Regions from separate parts of the Homo sapiens genome. Here regions 2, 3 and 4 are each linked to region 1. Evidence: promoter capture Hi-C in 16 types of primary human blood cells and fetal thymus (Javierre and others, 2016). All regions are on one chromosome and are shown on one strand. Each heading gives the region's core, a stretch centred on a gene start or on the middle of the fragment in contact. The rest is flanking DNA. Distances are from core to core; before and after follow the strand shown.

Region 1 (5,838 bases), core at 883-3,382:
CTGTCTCAAAAAAAGGCTGGGTATGGTGGCTCATGCCTGTAATCCCAGCACTTTGGGAGGCCGAGGTGGGCGGATCACCTGAGGTCAGACCAGCTTGGCCAACGTGGCAATATAGTGCAACCCTGTCTCTTTAAAATAAATAAATAAATAAACAAATAATCACATGAAAAACCCTTCGTGGGGAGAAACACCCTGTTTGCTTCAAACATTCATGGAACACCTCCTCCCTCAACCTGATCCTGCCCCCATCTCAGCGAGGTCCCAGTACGAGAGGAGAGGCAAACCCCTAAACAGGTCTTTTAATGAAATAATGTGTTGGCCAGTGGCTACAGCCTGTAATCCCAGCGCTTTGGGAGGCTGAGGCAGGCAGATCACTTGAGTCCAGGAGTTTGAGATCAGCCTAGGCAACATGGCGAAACCCCATCTCTATAAAAAATACAAACATGGCTGGGCCCAGTGACTCACGCATGTAATCCCAGCACTTTGGGAGGCCGAGGCAGAAGGATCACCTGAAGTCAGGAGTTTGAGATCAGCCTGGCCAACATGGCAAAACCCTATCTCTACTAAAAATACAAAAATTAGCTGGGTGTGGTGGCACATGCCTATAATCCCAGCTACTTGGGAGGCTGAGGCAGGAGACTCTCTTGAACCTGGGAGGCAGAGGTTGCAGTGAGCCGAGATCGTGCCACTGCACTCTGGCCTGGGTGACAGCGTGAGACACCATCTCAAAAAACAAAACATCAGCCTGGCCTAGTGGTGTGAGCCTGTAGTCTCAGCTATTCGGGAGGCTGAGGTGGGAGGATCACTTGAACCCAGGAGGTTGAGGCTGTGGTGAGCTACGATTGCACCACTGCACTCCAGCCTAGGGGACAGAGTGAGACCCTGTCTCAAAAAAGAGAAAGAAGTGTTGTCTAGGCCGGGTGTAGTTGCCCATGTCTGTAATCCCAGAACTCCGGGAGGCCAAGGTGGGAGGATTACCTGAGCCCAGGAGTTCGAGACCAGCCTGGTCAACATAACAATAACCCTTGACTCCAAAAAGTAAAATAAAAAATCAGCTGGGTGTGGTGGCATCTGCCTGTAATCCCAGCTACTCAAGAGGCTGAGGCAGGAGCCTAAGAGGTCAAGGCTGCAGTGAGTTATGATTGCATCACTGCACTCCAGCATGGGTGACAGAGAGACCCTGTCTCAAAAAAAAAAAAAAAAAAGTGTTGTCTGAAGCCACCAATATGTCCCACCCTTTGATCTCTCCTCATGGTGCCTGGTCCATCCCAGCTGGACAGAAATCAGAAATACCACTGGACAGAGCCAGCCCCTCCCCTCCCCAACCTCCTCCAGCCTATCTCAGACCTCTCCTTGCCCTTCACGTTCCAGGTCAGACCTCAGGCCCTGCTCCTACTGAAGCTTAAAACGCCTGTGGTGTTGGTACCAGCCCAGCTCCACCTCCACCCCAGGGTCTAACTTAAGAGCCACCTTGTCCTCAGCCCCTCAATTCGCCTTCCTCCTTCCCAAGCCTCAGTGTGTCCATCTGCCAAATGGGCGTGACCATCCCTACCCCAACTTCCTGTCTCCCACATCAACTCTAATGATACAATCAAAGTAAGATTCAGAAACTTTTTTTTGGGCGGGGGCGGGGGGGCGATGGGTGCCAAGCGCGGGCAAACCATGGAGAGAGCGAACTACAATTCCCATCCGGCTCCGGGGCCGCGGGCGTCCCTAGCCCCTCTCTCTTAGCCAAGGGCAAGGCGGCTGCGACCCAGGGGGCGAGAGAAGTTGCAGTGCTCCGCGCCTCCTGGGTCAGGGCCCAGGGAGGGCCCAGGTAAGTCTGGGTCTGGGGCCGCGCGGGGATCTGGGGAGTCTTTCCGACCCCGCAGAACCCCACCGCGCCCCGCGCAGAAGTCAGTTGTTCTCCCCGGCCCGCCCCCGCACTTCCTGGCCGGGAGTTGGGCCCGCCCCCGCGCGCCTCCGCCCCCACCTTCACCTCTAGCCGCGGCTCCCATTGGCCGGCGCGCACCTGCCCGTCCGTCGGGGGGCGGGGCGCGGCGCCCAGGTGAGGGCGCGCTGGCGGCGGCGGAGGAAGGTGACAGCGGGGAGGGCGGGAGAGGGGCGGGGGAGGACGCGCGGACAGAGCCTCAGACGGTTGGGCGGACGGACGGCCCGACAGGCGGGCATGCGGGCGGCCAGACTGTAGCCGAGCAGCGAGGCTCCGGCCGCAGCCATGGAGCGGCGGCTGCGCGCGCTGGAGCAGCTGGCGCGGGGCGAGGCCGGCGGCTGCCCGGGGCTCGACGGCCTCCTAGATCTGCTGCTGGCGCTGCACCACGAGCTCAGCAGCGGCCCCCTACGGCGGGAGCGCAGCGTGGCGCAGTTCCTGAGCTGGGGTGAGTGGCGGGGCGGCACGGAGCGGGGGCGGGCCTAGGGATATCGCGCCGAGACCCCCGCACCCGCAGACTTTCCCGCAGGGACCCGCACCCCCACGGGCTTCCCTCGCAGACTCCCTGCAGTGGCCCTGACGCGTACCACCGGACCCCCGCGGCCCGCACACTCGCCTGCACACCTCACCCTCACTCCAATTCTCACACACGCTCTCTCCCTCTCACAGACCCCGACACATGCACACACATACCAACTTGTGCTCAGGTATCGACCGCAGACGCATGTACCCAGTGCACCGCCTAGAGTCCCTTACAGATTTCCTTGCTTACAGGCCACACCTGACGCAGGACACACACAGACCCTCATGCATGTCACCCACTGATACACGGGCTCTGTTTCTCCTTCCTCTCGGATGCATTGAGACACACAACTCATGGAGAGACCCAGGGAGCGCTGCAGACCACCCCGACCGCATTGGCACTGCAAAACACACAGATCTGTAGGTATCGCACACTTGCAGACCTTCCCCCCACCAACACACACACCCCCAGCTCCCTGGGTACAAGACCACTGCAGCCTGGACTCAGGAACCGATCTCCAACCCTTGGCCTGTGCAGGCTGCTGGCCAAGCTCCTTGGGGGCTGTGGCGCCGGGGCCGGGGAGGGGGGCCTAGCTGGAGATGGGTCTGTACCTTTCCTGGTAGACTCATCTGAGTCATTGGGAGTGGCTGGCCCGGGGTGACCCTGAACCCACTGTGGGCACTGGCGCCAGCTGGAGGGTTCCCTGGTCACACCCTGCCGGGCCATGGGGAAAAGGCACGGGGGCCTGGCCAGGGCGGGGTGAGGCAGGTGTTTGCCCAGTGGGCAACTAGCGTTCCTGGCACTCCTGAGCTCTGGGAAGGCACAAGGCCTGGGGTAGAGGGGGAGGCTGCCACCTAGATGTGCCAGGGAGTTGTCCCCTAGCCCCAACCCTTCCATCCAGGGCGAGGCAGTCAGAGGCCCCTGCCTCTGTGCCTGTCTCCCTGGTATGCCTCCGTGCTATGCCTGTCTGCCTGTGTTGTTGTCACCCCCCCCATGACACCCACACACGTGTGTGTGTTTGCACACACATGTGTGCTCCTCCCTGACTGCCTCCAGCACCTCTGCCTGGGACCCCGGCATGGGGGCCCTCTGTTGACAATCTCCCAAGGTAACTCAAAGGGCTGTGACTCATTCCTCTCCTGCTTGTCTCTACTTGTCCCTGCTCCTGCCCGGAGCCCCCATGCCCTGTGGGAGGCCAGAGGATTAGGCAGCCTGTCCAGGGGCCTGGATCCTCCTGCCTGTGGGCCTGGGCTTCGGCCCTCTTCTGGCGGGTGGGTCCCTATGGTGCTGGCTTCAACTCCCACGGGGAGGCCCGGGGCTGCTCCTCCCCAGCTCCACACACAGACCTGGGAAAGAGACAATGAATTTCTGTAATGAGGTTTCCACCCCGCCCCCGCTGCGGGCTTCTGCCTGATAAACCTGTGGAACAGCTCTCTGTCCCACCCACAGACCCGCCCAGCTGGCAGGGAGTTTACCTCCTGGCAGGGGGAAACTGAGGCAGGGCGCCAGACCACAGCTGCCCCCCATCCTGACTGATCACTCCTGCCTCCCTAAGACCCAATTCCTTCCCAAAACCTGGGGCTAATCCAGGCCTGGAAAGTGCCTGGGAGTGGCTGGAGTTGCCCTTCCTGGAGGTATCTGGGATGTGAGGAAAGAGGACGTTCTTGACCAGACAAAAGCTTCGTCCAGACAGGGAGGCAGGGCTGGGAGTGAGAGAGCCGGTCAGGCCTGGAGGCATCCTGAGCACTCACGCCTTCAGGGGCTAGTGCTAGCACCAGGGAAAGGCATCTTTGTCCTGTTTGTGAGTCTCAGCACCTTGGCAGACTGGCATCCATGCCTCCAGCCTGAGGGGCCCCACGTGGGAAGCATAGAGCCTGTCCTCCCTGCCCTAGGGGCTGCAGGCCTCACCCCCAACCAGGCACCTCTATGCCTACAGGGTCCCGGGACCCAGGCCCACAGCTCCTGAATGGGAGAGAAGCCTCTCTGGGGATAAGGAATGTCACCCGTCCAGTTTCCTAAGACAGGCCCTGGCCTGAACCTGTGAGGGGGCCAAGAACTGTGAGGTGGGGGTAGGAATGGTGTCCCCATGGTCCCCAGGGTGACCTGGCCAAGCAGAGTCAGGCCGCAGACTGGGCAGGACTACAAGTCCCATCAGCCCCTGGGATGGAGGCTGCCTAGAGTCTGGGGCCAGGGGTCCAGGGAGGTCCAGGGACCAGGCGGTCAGCTGAGCCCGGCCTCTGACCTTCCGCACTTCCTGATCATGGCCAAAGGAGCACCAGTTCCTGCCACAACCCCTTGGCCCGAGGCTGTCCCTGGGGAGGTCATCCCTGCCTGGGCTCACAGGAGCGGCAGCTCCTGGCTTGCCCAAGGTGAGAGGGGGAATGGAGCCCTCCCTCCCTGCACTCTGAGTCCCGCCCTGTGTCCCCTCAGCCAGCCCCTTCGTATCAAAGGTGAAAGAACTGCGTCTGCAGAGAGATGACTTTGAGATCTTGAAGGTGATCGGCCGAGGAGCCTTTGGGGAGGTGAGCAAAGGGCCTGGGGTAGGTGGGGGGAGGTGTTCACACCGGGCTGGGCTCACCCCGGTCCTCCCTGTGGCCTTAGGTCACCGTGGTGAGGCAGAGGGACACTGGGCAGATTTTTGCCATGAAAATGCTGCACAAGTGGGAGATGCTGAAGAGGGCTGAGGTCAGTGTGGAGTCTGGGGGGCCCTTGGGCACCCTACAAATGGGTGTGGGGGAGGTGTATGCTGCCAGGGCCTATGGCGCGGGGGGGGCGGGCAAGGCTGCAGACCAGGCAAAGGGTGCCACCCTCAGCAGCCACTGATTTGTTATCTTTCTCACAATAAACCCTTTATTTAATTTTTTAAATTTTTTTTTTTTTTTTGAGACGGAATCTTGCTCTGTCAACTAGGCTGGAGTTCAACGGTGCTATCTTGGCTCACTGCAACCTCCGCCTCCCAGTTCAAGTAATTCTCCTGCCTCAGCCTCCCGAGTAGCTGGGATTACAGGCACCTGCCACCACACCCAGCTAATTTTTGTATTTTTAGTAGAGATGAGGTTTTGCTATGTTGGACAGGCTGGTCTCGAACTCCTGACCTCAGATGATCCTTCTGCCTTGGCCTCCCGAAGTGCTGGGATTACAGGCGTGAACCACCGTGCCCAGCCTACAATAAACTTTTTTTTTTAAGATAGAGTCTCACTCTGTCACCCAGGCTGGAGTGCGGTGGCGTGATCTCGGCTCACTGCAACCTCCACCTCCTGGGTGCAAGGGATTCTCATGCCTCAGCCTCCCAAGTAGCTGGGATTACAGGCGTGTGCCACGACACCCAGCTAAGTTTCTTGTATTTTTAGTAGAGATGGAGTTTCACCACATTGGCCAGGCTGGTCTC
Region 2 (5,112 bases), core at 1-2,500, 200 kb before region 1:
ACCCCACCTACCACACAGCCTTTGACACCTTTGACTATGTGGACAAGTTTTTGGACCCGGGTGAGGAGGGAGACAAGGGGCATCCTGAGACCAGGACAGGAGAGGCTGAAGACTGAGCCCTGGCCTTGTCACCTTGCCGCAGGCTTCAGCAGCCATCAGGCTGTGGCCCGGACAGCGGGGAGTGTGATTCTCCGGCTCAGTGACAGCTTCTTCCTGCCCCTCAAAGTCAGTGACTACAGTGAGACACTCCGCAGCTTCCTGCAGGCAGCCCAGCAAGATCTTGGGGCCCTGCTGGAGCAGCACAGCATCAGCCTGGGTATGCACAGCCCTGACCCTGAGGTATGGGGAGCCCTGCACCCCCATGACTGAGCCACTGCTTGTTCCTCACAGGGCCTCTGGTGACTGCAGTGGAGAAGTTTGAGGCAGAAGCTGCAGCCTTGGGCCAACGCATATCAACACTGCAGAAGGGCAGCCCTGAGTGAGCAAGGGCAGCGGGCAGGGGCTGGGAGGGCAGCACCCAGGGCAGGATACCAGGCTGGTAGCTGGGCTGCTGGCTCCAGGGTGACTGGCAGTTCCTGCCTCCCCACCAGCCCCCTGCAGGTCCGGATGCTCAATGACCAGTTGATGCTCTTGGAACGGACCTTTCTGAACCCTAGAGCCTTCCCAGAGGAACGCTACTACAGGTGAGTCTGTCCCAGAGTCCTGGGAGGTGCCTCCAGGTGGGGCCGGACAATGGCTCCCCACCTGAGACGAGGTGGTCAGCTTCTCTGCCCTTTAGAGTGCAACCCAGCCCCTGAAGAAGATGGGAATGTAAGGCTCAGGGAGGGGAGGAAAGTTGCTTGAGGGTCCCTCTGGGAGCTAGGACTGGAACCCACATTTCCTCCCCCGACCGCCACTGCTGTAAGAGCTCCCTGGCCTTCAGAGACAAGTGGACGGGGGTGCTTTTCTGCCTCGCTGCGTACAGGAGCTGAGCCAGTTCTAGGCCCAGGCTTCTCTTTCCTGGCCCCTGACTGACTGACCCTGATCCTGTCCCATTTCTCTTGTCAGCCATGTGCTCTGGGCACCTCGCACGGGCTCCGTAGTCACATTCCCGGGCCTATCCAATGCCTGCTCCAGGGCCAGGGACACAGCTTCTGGATCTGAAGCTTGGGCTGAGGTCCAGAGACAGCTCAGCATTGTGGTGACAGCCCTGGAGGGTGCGGCAGCCACCCTGAGGCCTGTGGCTGACCTCTGACCCCAGCCCTCTTTCTTCAGCCCTCCCTTTACTCCAACCCTCTCCTGCCTGCTTTCCTGAGATGTCCTGGTCTTCCTTGGTGCCAGAAGAGGGCACTACCACAGGACCCTCTCAAGCTTCTCAGGCAACAGCTTGAGGTCCCTGAGGGGAGTGGCAAGCCCTAATGCAACTCACCCTCATCCTGGTGCTTAGGTGGCAGAGGGTGGGCAGCAGGGGACAGGGATGGGATGGCAAAACCACCAACTGCCCTTGGTGGCAGGTGGGTGGAGATGGGATGCGTGCCAACCTCAGATGCCAACTCAGGTCATCAAGGCCAAGGACCAGTGGCGAAAGTGAGTCTTGGGGTACCTTAGGCCTTGGCTAGTCTGCGTTCCTCTCCCTGCATGCTGTGTATCCTAACTCCCTACAACAGCCCCTCAAATAAATCACATCTAGTGACTGGTACCAACAAAACAAGTTCCTTTTATTACCTGGAAACCATGGAAAAAGAAACCTAAGTGCTCTGGCCCAGTCCTGGGGCTCTGGGAGGCTCACGCTCCCTCCTCAGGCTGGGGACCCAGGTCTGTCCGTGCCCTCATCTTCCTCCTCTGCCATGACCACCTCCTCCAGGGTACGTCCTCGAAGTTTGCTCTCCACTAACACCTTGCACGTACTGGCAGGCGGTAGCCCTTCCTCCACGTAGCGACCCCTCAGGAACACAACTCTCTCCTCTCCGTCCAAGGGCAGCCCGTGGGCCTGGCACAGGTCCCGTGCTTCCCTGAGTCCATCCAGGGCCAAGAGGTTGACCATGAAGCCCAGAGGCAAGGTCTGGCCCTTGGGGGTGCTAAAGGCACGAGCGAAGCGGGCCAGGGCTTCCCGGCGGGCATGGCCCACATGGCACTGCACAGCGCAACTTGGCAGGTAGGGCAGGGTCTGGAGCAGACGGAACAGGCGGGCAGCATTGCCCTCTCGGAAGGCAGCATCTACCGCCAAGGCCTTGCGGAGGGGCGGGCAGGCGCGCAGGGCAGCAGGCAGCTGTAGAACCTCATGCAGGGCTTCCACCGAGCCTGTGAGAGCGGGAAGCCAGAATGAGGACGCCTGGTCCTTACAGGATCAGGCTCATCTCCCCTCCCAACACCCTGTCCTTCCTCTCTCCTCGACCACGCCCCTTCTCTAGGCCTAGCCCAACTTCCCTCTCCCCTCTAAGGGCCAGCCTTTGGCTCCTTCCCCAACCTATATTTGAATGAGTGGCCTCAGGCTCTTGACTTCCTGCAGTCCAGATCCTTACTTACAACACTGAAGTGGGCAGGGTTTACGGATTTGGGAAGCTGGCCCAGATAATTGAATGATTCGCCTGAGAGTGTCCTAGGGCGGGTATGTAGTTGAGCCTGACCCCAGTCCAAGTTTTCGGACTTGGATTTCCCACTACCCTGGCTTCCCTGTACCCACAGTTTTGGAAGCCAACTCTGCCCCACTTTCCCCTGACCACCTGGGAAGGCCCCTTCCTTCAGGAGACTCTGCCCTTGCTTCCCTTCTGGAAGAGTCTCAGACACTGGAACCTTGGCCCTCATTTGTAAACTGGGGCTTCTGACCAATAAGTAGGTTGTGAAGTCAACAGCATTTTGTTAAAATTGTATAGGGCAGGGCCTTTTTTTTTTTTTTTTTTTTTTTTTTTTGAGACAGACTTGCTTTGTCACCCAGGCTGAAGTATAGTGGCTCTTGGCTCACTGCAATCTCCACTACCTCCCAGGTTCAGGTGATTCCCCTGCATCAGCCTCCTGAGTAGCTGGGATTACGGGTATGCACCACCACACCCAGCTAATTTCTGCATTTTTAGTAGAGAGGGCCCAGCCAGAACAGAGCTTATTTGGGCACAGTGGCTCATGCCTGTAATCCCAGCACTTTGGGAGGCCAACGCGGTAGGATCACTTTAGCCCAGGAGTTTGAGAGCAACCTGGTCAACATGGCAAGACTCCAATCCCTATATAAAAATAAATTTTAAAAAATTAAAAGAAAAGAAAATCATGGTCCTGCCACTACTACTGTTAACCAGTGCTGTGTCAACAGGCAAGTCACCTCACCACCCTGGGCTTCGATTTCTTCCCCCACTAGACCAGGGATAATTACCATGCCTTCTTCAGAGGAACAGTGTGGACAAAAATAAACCATTCACTGGGCATGATGGCCACACCCGGCTACTTGGGAGGGTGGGGCAGGAGGATCACTTGAGCCCAGGAATTCGAGTGGCAACATGCGAGATCCCATCTCTACAAAAAAAATTTTTTTAAGTTAGCCGGGTGTGATTGCATACATCTGTGGTCCCAGCTACTTGGAAGGCTGAGGCAGAAGGATCCCTTGAGCCCACGAGGTTGAGGCTGCAGTGAACTATAATTAAGCCACTGTACTCCAGCCTGGGCAAGAGTGAGACCCTGTCTCAAAAAACACAAACAGGCCGGGTGCAGTGACTCACGCCTGTAATCCCAGCACTTTGGGAGGCAGAGGTGAGCTATCATTTTGAGGTCAGGAGTTCGAGACCAGCATGGCCAACATGGTGTTGGCCTGTCTCTACTAAATATCCAAACACTAGCCGGGTGTGGTGGTGCACGCCTGTAGTCCCAGCTCTTTGGGAGGCTGACGCAGGCGAATAGCCTGAACCCGGGAGGCGGAGGTTGCAGTTAGGCAAGATCATGCCACCGCACTCCAGCCTGGGCGACAGAGCTAGACTCTGTCTCAAAAACAAAGAAAGAAACAAATAATAAGAGTTTATTGGAATGCATCGCCCATAGAAAGTATCTCTAATGCCTTAAACTTCTGTCTCAGGTATATTCGTGGGCATATGTGTTCTTGTTTGCTTGGTAACCCTGACTGGGCGGGGAGGTTAAAAGAGTTTGAAAATCAGCCGGGCGCGGTGGCTCACGCCTGTAATCCCAGCACTTTGTGAGGCCAAGGTGGGCGGATCACGAGGTCAGGAGTTCGAGACCAGCCTGACCAACATGGTGAAACCCCCGTCTCTACTAAATACAAAAATTAGCTGGGTGTGGTGGCGCGCGCCTGTGATCCCAGCTACTCAGGAGGCTGAGGCAGAAGAATCGCTTGACCCAGGGAGGCGGAGGTTGCAGTGAGCCGAGATCGCGCCACTGCACTCCAGCCTGGGCGACAGAGCGAGACTCAAAAAAAAAAAAGTTTGAAAATCACTATTTAGACCAATTCTCCCTTTCCACCCTTGCCCCCTCCACTTTTATTCCTGAGACAACTAAGACCCAGAGATGGGCCCGAGGTCCCACGTCGGGGCTCGGTGGATCTTGTGCTGTCCTGGGAGGGGGCTAATGGTGAGATGTTAAAGCTAATCCTTCCTTTCCCTACCTCCACTGTCATGGTGGGCTCCTGTCCCCACGCTCTGCCCAGCCGCCAGGATCCCGACTCACCCAGGTTATAGAGCAGAAAGAGGCCCTGGAAGGCGGGTTGGCGGGGGTGCGGCCCGGCGCCCCGCGCGTAGCAGCGCCGCAGCGAGCCGAAGCCCTCCTGCACCTGGGCCTGCAGCAGCACCGGGTCCGCGGGTCCCCGCGCCGCGTCGGGCCCGAGCCGCGCCACTACGGTCAGCAGCGTGGCCAGCGCCGCCTCCAGCACCACAGCTGCCTCGGCGTCGCCCGCTCCCTGCAGCGCCAGGTCCAGGAGCACAGCTCGCAAGCGGTCTGCCACGAAGCTGGCCACCTCGGCGCGGGCGATGTCGGCGCTCTCCGCCACCTCACCGGCCAGGTAGCGCACGGTGGCCAGCAGCACGGAGGGCGGACGCAACTGGCTGGGCGGGGGCCGGGGCTTGCCGGCGGCGGGTCGGCTGTACTCCTTCACCGCGCGCTGCGGATCCGCGCGGGGCGGGTCCTGGCGGCAACCCGGCACCA
Region 3 (6,068 bases), core at 908-3,407, 230 kb before region 1:
GATAATAATTAGACTCTGATGTGCCTCAGTTTCCTTAACAGTAAAATGAGGACAATAATAATACCTATGCCACAGTGTTTAAAAATGAGATAGTCGGCCGGGCGCGGTGGCTCACACCTGTAATCCCAGCACTTTGGGAGGCTGAGGTGGTTGGATTACTTGAGGTCAGGAGTTCAAGACCAGCCTGGCCAAGATGGTGAAACCTCGTCTCTACTAAAAATACAAAAATTAGCCGGGCATGGTGGCGGGCACCTGTAATCCCAGCTACTCGGGAGGCTGAGGCAGGAGAATCACTTGAACCCTGGCGGGTGGAGGTTGCAGTGAGCCAAGATCATGCCACTTCACTCCAGCCTGGGTGAAAGAGAGAAACTCCATCTCAAAAAAAAAAAAAAAAAAAAAAAGAATGAAATAATACAAGTAAAGCACTTGGTGCATGGTAAGTGCTCAATGAACAATTTTCAAGTAGAACTGACCATTCCCTCCCTTTTTAAGTCTCAGAAGTCCACACAGACCTCCATCATAGCACCTTCAAGCTCCATTCTGTCTGCTCTGCACACACGTTTACACAGTAGCTGTGTAAACTCCAGCTCAGGCTGGAGGCAAGGTTGTATTTGTCTCTGTCCCCCCAGTGTCCAGGCACATCATGGAGTAAGTGGATGTGGTGGTTTCCCACCAGCCTGGGCAGGTGTGCCCCTCCAGTGGGAGCTGGGGACAGGGGCTTCAGAGAGCCTCTGAGTGCCTGGTAGGAGGGGCACAGGTGGAGTCAGGAGTGATGGCACCTGGCACCCTGCCTCAGTCATGAGCCTCCCACAGCACAAATTCTAGTCCCACCAGTGTGCATGTGAGGTCTGAAGCCAGCCCCATGGCTCACACCTGTCCCCATTTCTTGGAGAGTGGACTTCACCCTCCCTCTCCACAGGGCAGTTCCCCACACAGCCTATGGACCCCTCCCTCCTCGCCTGGGTCCTCAGCCCGGTAGCTCACCACCCTTTCAGATGAGGCTTTGGCTCAGGCCTGGTGGTTCTCCCAACACATGGGCCTAGACCAGGCTGCCTTCCCCTCTCCACAGTGTGGCTGACAGGTTGGCAGGCTCCCTGACAGCCACCTGCTTGGGTATCAGTCCACCCACATCTGAGACTCTTCTTGAGCCATGGTTTTCTCTTCTGAAAAGTGAGGCCAATTCCATCTCTCTAACGGAGTTGGTCAGGAGGTTGATGTCATATGCAAAGCAGCCAGCAGAGTTCCTCATCACTGATGGCTAGTAGCATTTTACCCAGCCTGTGATTAACCCCTCAAAGGAGGAGATTCATTTTTGTACCTTCTCAACATTCAGGGAAGGGCCTTCAACAAAGTTAGGGCTCAGTCAATATTTGTGGAGTTGAATACCCATTTCACAGGCTAGGAGGCTGAGCCCGATTTCCTGCAGCTGCCCCACCTATGAGCAGCAGAGCAGGACTGAAATCCAGGTCCTGAGCTATCTTCTGTCCAAGTCTGAATTAAGCATCTGTCTGTGCTTGGCTGGTGGGACCCTGAGAGGACCCCAGTCCTGTCTGTCTGTCTATCTGCTCATCCTCCTCACGTACCAACTGGTAACCGTGGAGCTTTTCATGCCTCCCAGTGTCCTCTGATGGGCACCAACATGTGGCCATAGTGTTAGAGTTGCTAGATTTAGCAAAAAATACAAGATGCCCACTTAAGCCTGAATCTTAGATAAACAACACAATTTTTAAAGAGTAAGAGTGCCCTTGCCTGCAATCCCAGCACTTTGGGAGGCCGAGGCAGGCGGATCACCAGGTTAGGGGTTCGAGACCAGCCTGACCAACATGGTGAAACCCCGTCTCTACTAAAAATACAAAAATTAGCTACTCAGGAGGCTGAGGCAGGAGAATTGCCTGAACATGGAAGGCAGAGGTTGCAGTGATCCGAGATCGCACCACTACACTCCAGCCTGGGCAACAAAGCGAGACTGTCCCCAGGAAAAAAAAAAAAAAGGAATAACTGTTTCCCAAATCAGAGAAATAATAGATAGTTTTCTAGTACAAGTATGTTCCATGCCACATATGGGGTATGCATATGTGGGTTGAAAATCCAAAATCCCGGCCGAGCACGGTGGCTCACACCTATAATCTCAGCACTTTGGGAGGCCAAGGCGGGCAGATCATGAGGTCAGGAGATCGAGACCATCCTGGCTAACACGGTGAAACCCCGTCTCTACTAAAAAATACAAAAAATTAGCCGGGTGTGGTGGCGGGCACCTGTAGTCCCAGCTACTCGGGAGGCTGAGGCAGGAGAATGGCGTGAACCTGGGAGGCAGAGCTTGCAGTGAGCCAAGATTGCACCACTGCACTCCAGCCTGGGCAACAGAGCGAGACTCTGTCTCAAAAAAAAAAAAAAAGAAAAGAAAATCCAAAATCCCAAACTGTGAGCACTGCCCTGACATTCACTGTAGCATTTTGGATTCTGGATTTTCAGATAATGCTAATATTCCAAAATCCTAAGAAATCTGAAATCCAAAACACTTCTAGATAGGCATTTTGGAGAAGAAATTCTCAACCTGCCTGGGTTCAGTGGCTTATGCCTGAAATCCCAGCACTTTGGGAGAGGAGGAGGCAGGAGAATCACTTGAGCCCAGGAGTTCGAGACCAGTCTGGGCAACATGGTGAAACCCTGTCTCTACAAAAAATACACAAATTAGCTGGGTGTGGTGCCAGGCCTGCAGTTGTAGCTACTCAGGAGGCTGAAGTGGAAGAATCATCTGAGCCTGGGAAGTCGAGGCTGCAGTGAGCCATGAGGGTGCCACTGCACTCCAGCCTGGGCGACAAAGTGAGACCCTGTCTCAAAAGTAAATAAAGTCTCAAAAAAAAATTCATCGTTTATCTGAGATCCCAATTTAACCTGGCATTCTGTGTTTTATTTGGCAACCCTACGTGGGTACACTGGTACCCAGCCCATACCACCGTTAAGACCCACTTTTGTGGTGTGACAGGGTCTCATGCACACCTTCTCCAGGATTAACAGAGTTTAGACACTTGTCACATGCAGCAGTTGGTGGCTTGCCTCTCTTCCTCACTTCCAGGGCCCTTGGCATCCTGGCCCCAGTGTCTACGCCTTCCACTCACCCTCTGAACTATGGCCAAACAGCCCACATAACAGACACACAAAGATCCCTATGCCTCCTCGTCCCCTGTGGGCTACAGCCCAGGCCCTGTCTTGGGCCCTTCGCAGGACCCCACGGCTCTTGCTTACACCATTCCCTCTTCTGGTCTCCCCTGCGTCCTTGTTTGAGACCCGGCGGCACATCCTGTGTGCAGTCTCTCTGGAGCTCCGAAGCAGAATGCATGGCTCCCTCCTCTTGCAGCCAGGGCTCGCTGTACAAACCTCTGTGTGGCTCATCCCCCCGCACTGTGGTCAGCTGCAAACCTGAGGCCTCCCTCATCTTCCGGAAACTTCTGCGCAGAACCAGGTTGTGTCCATCTATATGTTCCCAAGGCCTACGCCACAGGCAATGTTTACAGGGACCAGTAAGCGCATGAGTGAATTGTATCCTACCATGTGAAGAAGTCTTTGTTTCCTTACCACTTCTTATATTTGGGCCTTTTAGGCCCCTTCCAGTTTTTCTTCATGGTGTAAATCAGCTACTGTGGTCGTCCATGTGAATTACTTTTATTTGGAGTTGTTTCTTTAAGCCGTTTCCAAAGTGAGGTTCTCAGAGGCATGACTCTCCATCGTTCTGTGGATCTTGTTATACGCAGCCAGGTTCTCCTGGTGACAGAGCTACCTATTCTCCAGCAGCCATACCACGCTGGAGCTCTGGGACTTTCCAGGGTTACGGGGCCCTCTGCAGAGCTGTCGGTTTATGTCACGTGGTCAGGAATTGTGTAATTTTAGGCTGCCTAGAAAGGTACAATATAACACAGCCACAAGCCCAGGCCACAAGCCCCCTGCCACAAGTCCATGGGGATCTAGAGGCGCAGGTGGACTCAGTGTGAAGAAGGACCATGTCTGTGGTTACTTGGCCAGTAGATGCACAAGATTCTGAAAAATACCGGGGTGAAAAATAGCCACAATTCTATTAACTTCAGCTTTTTTTTTTTTTTTTTTTTTGAGAGTCTCGCTCTGAAGCCCAGGCTGGAGTGCAGTGATGCAAACACACCTGAGTGTAGCCTCAACCTTCCAGGCTCAAGTGATTCTCCCACCTCGGCCTCCCAAGTGGCTGAGACTACAGGCACACGCCACGATGCCCAGCCAATTTTTTAATTTTTTGCAGAGATGGGGTCTTGGTGTGTTGCCCAGGTTGGTCTCTAACTCCTGGGCTCAAGCGATCCTCCCGCCTTGGCCTCCAAAAGTGCTGGGATTACAGGCGTGAGCCACTGCACTCAGCCTCAAAATATTTTTAGCATGTAGTTTGGCAGGACTGCCAGATAAAATACAGGACACCTAGTTAAATTTGAATTTCAAATGAACAGTGAATTGTTTTTTAGTGTAAGTATATCCCAAACATTGTGTGAGACAGATACTGAAAAAGTATCCATTTTCAGCTGAAATTCAGATTTCACTGGGCCTATATTGTATTTACTAAATCTGGCAACTTTCACTTTGAGGGGGTCTGGCTTGCTGGACAGAGCTGGTGATAGACGCTCGCCAGGCTGGAAGCCGCCCCCTAAAAACCAGACCAGGCTAGAAATGGCATAGCGGGGATGGTAGATGTGAGTGACTAGCAGGCTTCTGTCTCTCTCAGTCTCTTAGGGGCAGACAAAGAGCCCACTCCAAGCTGGCCAACAAGCCAGTGGTGCAGCCTGTTGAGGAGCAAGAACCCAAGGGCCCTCAGGCTTCCGAGGAGCGGAACTTGGAGGTGATGGGAAACCCCAGGGCCTCCTAAGGCAGTGGGCAGGGGAGGCAGGAGAGCTGGAGAAATTCTTCCTGTATCTGAATGGAGGCCTGAACCCCCGTCGTCACACCCAGCTTCCAGCTGTCAGGGCGTCCAGGCCCAGCTCCTGGGTTCAGGGCTGAGGAATGGGTGCAGGGGAGTTCAGCGCTGGAGGGCCTCCTGGACAGGTCCCATTCATACCTCCTACCAGGCTTTCCCTACAGGGTGGGGGATACAGACGATGGGGCCCCTGAAAGACAGGGAGATGGCAAGGATGGGGGGTGTGGGAGGACCCAGGCTCTTGGGTGAGCAGCCGTGACCCTCTCCAGTCACCTTGGCGCTTTCTCTGCAAAGCCACCTTCCTCAGAACAACTGGAACCCACCGTCACGTTCCTGTTTACACTCCTGAACACCTCTGAGCCCACTGAGCCAAAAGACCCTGAATCGTAAGGCTGCATGAGAGAGAGAGAGAGAGAGAGAGTGCCCATGCAGGCACATGCAGGCACGCACAAAACTGGGGGAGGTGGATGGTGTTTCTCCCCACCCCACACCCAGAAACATTCAAACCTGGGCTAGGACTCAGTCCTGGCCCGTGCAGAGAGGAGGCCCAGAGAGGCCTGCTGAAGCCGGGGCCTTTGGCTGGGCACCCCCACACCACCCACCCACTTCCCTCATCCCCTAGACCCTCTGGCCTGACCTTCACTACCCACTTGCTCCAGGGACTCGGAGATCCAGGAGTACCAGTTCTTAGATCAGGAGGACTGGGGCCCCCAGCGGACCTCAAAGGAGATCAGGCAGTTGCAGAATGACTGCATGAGGTGATCTGGGCGGGCAGATGGGAGCGGGTAGGGTGACAGGGCTTCCCCCGACCAAGGCCAGGCCTGGCTTTCAGGTCAGGGCCCACGTGGCTGGTGAACGGGCATTCAGGAACCCCCACCTTTAATTGTCCAAGAACTTGAGGAGCGTTCAGTCTGGGGGAGGGGCTTGTTCTCTGGATGTCGGGCTCTGGAGCTGGGGTCCACACAATCCCATGGCCGCTCGCCCCTCTCAGGTAATGCTGGGGTCAGAGCCCCATCTGTCAGCAAAGGTCCTGAGGTGGGGGCAGGGCATGACGGAGGCTTCCAGGCCATAGACCTGAGTGATCAGCTCTCCCATTCATACACAGCTGACCTGGAGCGCCTAGGCAGGGCTGGTTCCAGCA
Region 4 (5,955 bases), core at 405-2,904, 160 kb before region 1:
CAGTGGGTGTGTACATCCTGCATGCCACTGCTGCATGCCTCATAAGACAAGTCAGAGTGTTCAAGCATCTGCATTACAGGTCTTAGCCCAGCTGCCTGTGTGGGAGGCAGCAGAGGCATCCTCTCCAACTCCAGATGACAAAAGGAGGTGTTATTCACCACGCAAAGGCACATGACATCTGCAAGCTTTTCCAGAACCTTAGGAGGTAGAAAGGACTTGAAAATCTGAGATCTTCCAACAGCCATGTGCTCGTACACCTCACCTGTTGCCTGTGGCCCCTCAGGAGCAAAGCTGTGCTAGATGCTTCTTGCCTCCATGGGGCCAGGCCTGGTGAATGAACGCAGGAGCGCAGCTGCTGCCCCTGGTTGCCCGTGTCCTGCTGTGCCCTCACTCCGGAACCTAAGAGGCAGGTACCACTCTTCTCTCCGCATGACAGACCCCCCCACCCACTCACCTGGATCGCTGCAGCAGCCTCCTGACCGGCTTCCCTGCTCCCCTGCTCCAAGGCACAGGGACCCTTTTTTATTTAATTAATTAATTATTTATTTATTGAGACAGAGTCTTACTCTGTCACCCAGGCTGGAGTGCAGTGACGTGATCTTGGCTCACTGCAACCTCCGCCTCTTGGGTTCAAATGATTCTTGTGCCGCAGCTTCCAGAGTAGCTGGGACTACAGGCATGAGCCACCATGTCTGGCTAATTTTTGTATTTTTAGTAGAGATGGGGTTTCATCATGTTGGCCAGGCTGGTCTCGAATTCCTGACCTCAGGTGATCCACCTACCTCGGCCTCCCAAAGTGCTGGGATTACAGGCATGAGCCACTGCGCCTGGCCAACCTTTTTATTTTTTATTTTTATTTGTTATCATTATTATTATTATTTTGAGATGGAATCTCACTCTGTCACCTAGGCTGGAGTGCAGTGGCGTGATCTCGACTCACTGCAACCTCTGCCTTCTGGGTTCAAGCGATTCTTCTGCCTCAGCCTCCCGAGTAGCTGGGATTACAGGCATCCACCACCATACCCAGCTAATTTTTGTGTTTTTAGTAGAGACAGGGTTTCGCCATGTTGGCCAGGCTGGTCTCGAACTCCTGACCTCTGGTGATCTGCTCACATCTGCCTCCCAAAGTGCTGGGATTACAGGTGTGAGCTACCATGCCCAGCCTATTTATTTATTTTGAGACAGAGTCTTGCTCAGTGGTGCAATCTCGGCTCACTGCAGCCACTACCTCCTGGGTTCAAGTGATCCTCCCACCTCAGCCTTCCAAGCATGCACCACTACGTCCGGCTAATTTTTGTATTTTTTACAGAGGTGGGTTTTCATCATGTTGGCCAGGCTGGTCTCGAACTCCTGACCTCAAGTGATCCTTCTGCCTCGGCCTCCCAAAGTGCTGGGATTACAGGTGTGAGCCACCAAGCCCGACCAGGGACCCTTTTAACCTATGCATCAGATCATGTTCTCCTCTGCTCAGAGCTCTCTGGTGCTCTCTGTATCTTTCAGAGTAAAAGCCCAAGGTTCTCACTGGCCTATGAGCCCCTGCATGAATGGCCCGTGGCCTCCACCCCAATCTCTTGCTCCCTGGACCCTGCCAGTCCCAGGAGTCCACTACACCACTCTGCCCCCCGACCCCAGCCGGTACCTCACTGTCACGGCTCTCTCGTCTTTAATTCTTTGCTCAAAAGTCCAATGTCAGAAACAATTTTTTTTTGTTCAAATATCTCAACGAGGCTCAGTCTGACCCCGCTATTTACATGTGAAATCCCCTACCCCACACTCCCCATGGCCCTTACCTAGCTCTCTTTTCCCCTTGGTACCTGTGGACTCCCACCAGACTAGATAATTCACTTAATGTAATTATCGTCTCCCTGCTCCTCCCTAGGATGGAAATTTCACAAGGGCAGGATTTGGATCTTTTTTTAAAAAACAGATGTCTCCCAGCACCTAGAGCAGGGCCTGCCACATAAGAGATGCTCAGGAAATAGTTGCTGCGTGATAGAAATAAGGATAGAGGTTTGTGAATTGCTTTCTAGCTGCTCACACGGACAGGAAGCAGCAGGGCTTCACCAGCCTTGTTCTTACCATCAGGTTTCTCAGCCCCCCAAACTGAGGCAGACCCGGCTCCCGCTCTCTGAGATCCCCACAGATTCCAACTCCCACACCAGGCCCAAATCAAAAAAGGCATCTTGGCTGGGCACGGTGGCTCATGCCTGTAATCCCAGCACTTTGGGAAGCTGAGGCAGGTGGATTACCTGAGGTCAGGAGTTTGAGACCACCCTGACCAACATGGCGAAACCCCATCTCTACTAAAAATACAAAAACTAGCTGGGTGTGGTGCAGGGCATGGTGCTGGGCACCTGTAATCCTAGCTACTCGGGAGGCTGAGGCAGAAGAATTGCTTGAACTCGGGAGACAGGGGTTACAGTGAGCTGAGATTGCGCCACTGCACTCCAGCCAGGGCAACAGAGCGAGACTCTGTCTCAAAAAAAAAAGGGCATCTCATAGGTACTGCTTCCTGACGGGTGGTGGGAAGGGAAGACTGAGCCCTGTAGTGGAAGGCAGATGGCAGTGCTGGGGGAGGCACCCAGGTCTCTGTCTGCAGCACCAGCCTCGGTTCATTGCTAGTCCCTTGTTTAGAAAAAGGCCTCCCAAGAGGCACAGGCAGGCCCCGGCCTCCAGCACAGCAAGAAGGACCCTGAGAAGTCATTGTCAAGTTCCTTCATTTTATTTTATTTATTTTGAGACAGGGTCTCACTCTGTTGCCCAGGCTGGAGTGCAGTGATGTGATCTCAGTTCACTGCAACCTCTGCCTCCCAGGCTCAAGTGATCCTCCCACCTCAGCCTCCTGAGTAGCTGGTACTACAGGCTCATGCCACCATGCCCAGCTAATTTTTGTTTTCGTTTTTGGGTTTGTTTGTTTGTTTGTTTGTTTGGTAGAGATGGGGTCTTGCTGTGTTGCCCAGGTTGGTCTCGAACTCCTGGGCTCAAGTAATCCTCCTGCCTTGGCTTCCCAAAATGCTGGGATTATAGGTGTGAGCCACGGGGCACCTGCTTAAGTTCCTTCATTTTACACATGAGGAAACAGGTCCAGAGAGGGCACAAGGCTGTCTGAGACCTCGAAGCTTGGTGAACGTGAGCTGCAGGTGAACTCAGTTCTCCAGAGGACCCCATCCCCAGACTTTCTTCTAGATGGGGCCCCCTTTCCAGCTCCTGGGACCCTGGTCTGGGGCCTCTGGGAATCAGTCCTGCTCCTGCAGACCAGCAACAGGTACAAATGCTCCCTGCCGTCTAAGGGTGTCCTGTGCCCCTGTTATTTCCACTCCAGGCCCCGAGATGTTTTCTGGATCAGCGAGGAATAAGATGAGAAAAGAACATGGAGGCTGCAGCAGAACCTGGGTCTGCCTGTTTCTGCCGCCTCCTTGTACTTGGCCAGTTCCCCTCTTCTTGCCAGGCCTCAGTTTCCCCAGTTGCAAAACAAACTGGAGAATCTCTGGAGTCCTCTGGCTGTGACTGACTGCTGACTTGCATGGCAAAAGCTCTCCTGCACCCTTGGTGCTATCCTTGGTGCTATCCTTGGTGCTGGTTCTGCCAAGGGCAGCACTGCCTTGTCTGTTGCATTTTGAGTCGCTAGCTAGTCTGGGTTGGGCTTCATTTCCCACCCCACTGCACACCAGCCAGCCCTCCAGTCCCTTGCTCCGTGAGCTCGGCTGGCCAGTTCCCGGCACCAGCCTCCACATGAGGCCCTCCCGTCTTTAGGGGTAACTAGGACAAGAGCGAGGGACTTATCCTTTCTGAGGTCACTGGTGACCACTTTCCATACTTTGTTTCAGTCATCATGGCAGCCCTGGCAAAGTGAGGGAATTATCACCATTTTACAGACAAGGACAATGAGAACCCAGAGAAACCAAGGGCCTTGTCCAAGCTCACACAGTAGCAGGACAGAGCGAGGATTTGAACCCTGGTCTTTCCGGGGCTTGAACCGCCTGGGAAAATCTAGGAGCTATGGTTGCAACTGCCATTTGCAAACAAACAAAGCCCTGGGATGCTCTCAGACTCTTCAGAGCTCAGCTGTTTATAATTTATACTGCCTTCCCATTTCCAGAAGTTCCAGACCGCTTCCCAGAAAGATGTGTAAGTACATTAAAGGAATGGCAGAGACTCAGAAGCTCAAGGCATTGGAGGTGGCAAAGGGCCAGCAGGACTGGGGGTTGGGGAGGGGAGTGAGCGTGGGAAGGTGCACCGAGGACCGGGCAGTGAAGAGCCCCATAGAGCCCAGGGGAAGTCACTTAGTTCCTGGGAGGCCCAGCTAGTTGCAGACTCCAACTTTTTTCATTTTTATTTTTTGACACAGAGTATCTCTCTGTTGTCCAGGCTGGAGTGCAATGGCGCAATCTCGGCTCACTGCAACTTCCGCCTCCCAGGTTCAGCGAATCTCCTGCCTCAACCTCCTGAGTAGCTGGGAATACAGGTGTGTGCCACCATGCCTGGCTAATTTTTGTATTTTTAGTAGAGACAGGGTTTCACCAGGTAGGCCAGGCTGGTCTCGAACTCTTAATTTGCCAACCTCAGCCTCCCGAAGTCCTGGGATTACAGGTGTGAGCCACCGTGCCCTGCCCAGACTCCATCTTTAATGAGCGCTGAAATGTGGTATGCACAATGTGCTGAAAGCAAAAGTCTGTTCTTCTCTCCCCACGCCCTGGGGAGTCTCCATGATGTGGCTTCCCCTGTCCCTGCCCAGCATTCAGTACATCTGGAATCATCCTTTGGCAAGCCCTTGCTTTCCTGTCCACGGGTCCTTGACTGCTGGGACCTTCCTCCGCATCTTGAGCAGTGTGAAATAATGGACAGGAAGAGTGCCGGGCTTAGTATCAGAGATACGGGGGAATTGGAGTCCATCTACCTGGGGAGGTGACCAGAGCCCGGGACGTGCTGCTGAGTGGCAGCTTCCTCATGTCGGAAGCTGAGCTGAGGTTGTGGGATCAGCTGGCATCTACTCACCCTTCTTTTGCCAACAGTACCCCGATGCCCTGGGGAACTGCCCCTTCTTCACCCCTAGTCCTTATGGTTTAGATGGGGCTCACCCCAACCCTGGGCTCCAGGATGGGCTTGAGGCCCTGCCCTTGCCAATCTCACCTGGTCACAGTGATTGATGTCAGGAATAGGCACATGACCCAAGCCAGACCAAGGAAGGCCAGGCCTGGGACTTTTGTTGGAGCTACTGGGAAAGTGGGAGGGGCTGGGGATGTGCCTGCCCTGGGTTGCTGTGAAGCTGGTGTTTCTGGTGGCCATCCTACTCCCATGACCGGGCTCTGCCTGAGAATGTAGCCAGCCTGGAGGACAGCAAATAGAGTAAGAGTTTGACTCCTGATGACATCGTTTGGGCCTCGTGTCTGAAGCTGGTGCACTCTAGACTTGGTAGTAACTTAACTTAGATCATCTAATAAGGGAGAGAGACTCCTCTAACACAGATATCTGCTGCCTCCTGGTGAAGGTTTCATGAGCAGCTGCATGGAGAATACTTCACTTACGGCCGGGTGCAGTGGCTGATGCATGTAATCCCAGCATTTTGGGAGGCTGAGGCGGGAGGATCATGAGGTCAGGAGTTCAAGAACAGCCTGGCCAACATGGTGAAACCCTGTCTCTACTAAAAATACAAAAATTAGCTGGGCGTGGTGTTGCATATCTGTAATCCCAGCTACTCAGGAGGCTGAGGCAGGATAATTGCTTGAACCCAGGAGGCGGAGTTTGCAGTGAGGCAAGATCGCGCCACTGTACTCCAGCCTGGGTGACAAGAGCAAAATCCTGTCTCAAAAAAAAAAAAAAAAGGCTGGGTGCGGTGGCTTACGCCTGTAATCCCAGCACTTTGGGAGGCCGAGGCAGGTGGATCACTTGAGGCCAGGAGTTGGAGACTAGCCTGGCCAATGTGGAGAAACCCCGTCTCTGCTAAAAATACAAAAA

What was found. Contacts are between HindIII fragments. The CHiCAGO score rates a contact against its expected background, and 5 or more counts as called.
Region 2: a contact is called between a fragment that was not itself captured here and the fragment with the promoter of CDC42BPG in region 1, in 4 of 17 cell types (M1 macrophages, erythroblasts, endothelial precursors and 1 more). The highest score is 7.3, in M1 macrophages.
Region 3: a contact is called between a fragment that was not itself captured here and the fragment with the promoter of CDC42BPG in region 1, in 8 of 17 cell types (endothelial precursors, M0 macrophages, M1 macrophages and 5 more). The highest score is 7.9, in endothelial precursors.
Region 4: a fragment that was not itself captured here is called in contact with the fragment with the promoter of CDC42BPG in region 1 in 5 of 17 cell types (M0 macrophages, M2 macrophages, endothelial precursors and 2 more); the score reaches 9.5 in M0 macrophages.

The regions. Positions count from the first base shown.
Region 1 is chr11:64,840,947-64,846,784 of GRCh38, reverse strand. It overlaps CDC42BPG (CDC42 binding protein kinase gamma), which reads left to right and starts at 2,132. Exons shown (of 37, transcript NM_017525.3): 1 at 2,132-2,375; 2 at 4,881-4,972; 3 at 5,052-5,135. The coding sequence starts at 2,216. RefSeq lists silencers at 1,953-2,302, 2,313-2,362, 2,393-2,442 and enhancers at 2,657-3,469, 3,494-3,788, 4,282-5,094. The HindIII fragment of the contact is 2,728 bases long and covers 1,404-4,131 here.
Region 2 is chr11:65,041,393-65,046,504 of GRCh38, reverse strand. SAC3D1 (SAC3 domain containing 1) reads right to left here. Exons shown (of 2, transcript NM_013299.4): 1 at 4,639-5,112; 2 at 1,677-2,280. The coding sequence ends at 1,778. It overlaps NAALADL1 (N-acetylated alpha-linked acidic dipeptidase like 1), which reads left to right. Exons shown (of 18, transcript NM_005468.3): 14 at 1-60; 15 at 143-316; 16 at 391-478; 17 at 591-683; 18 at 1,048-1,687. The coding sequence ends at 1,234. Among named protein-coding and RNA genes, the nearest start is that of SAC3D1, 2.7 kb to the right of the region's middle. RefSeq lists an enhancer at 2,129-2,675 and silencers at 4,627-4,676, 4,697-5,112. The HindIII fragment of the contact is 205 bases long and covers 1,148-1,352 here.
Region 3 is chr11:65,067,272-65,073,339 of GRCh38, reverse strand. It overlaps a transcript of CDCA5 not described here. Among named protein-coding and RNA genes, the nearest start is that of NAALADL1, 12 kb to the right of the region's middle. The HindIII fragment of the contact is 9,772 bases long and covers 1-6,068 here.
Region 4 is chr11:65,001,120-65,007,074 of GRCh38, reverse strand. No RefSeq gene overlaps it. Among named protein-coding and RNA genes, the nearest start is that of BATF2, 7.1 kb to the right of the region's middle. RefSeq lists an enhancer at 1-635. The HindIII fragment of the contact is 2,934 bases long and covers 188-3,121 here.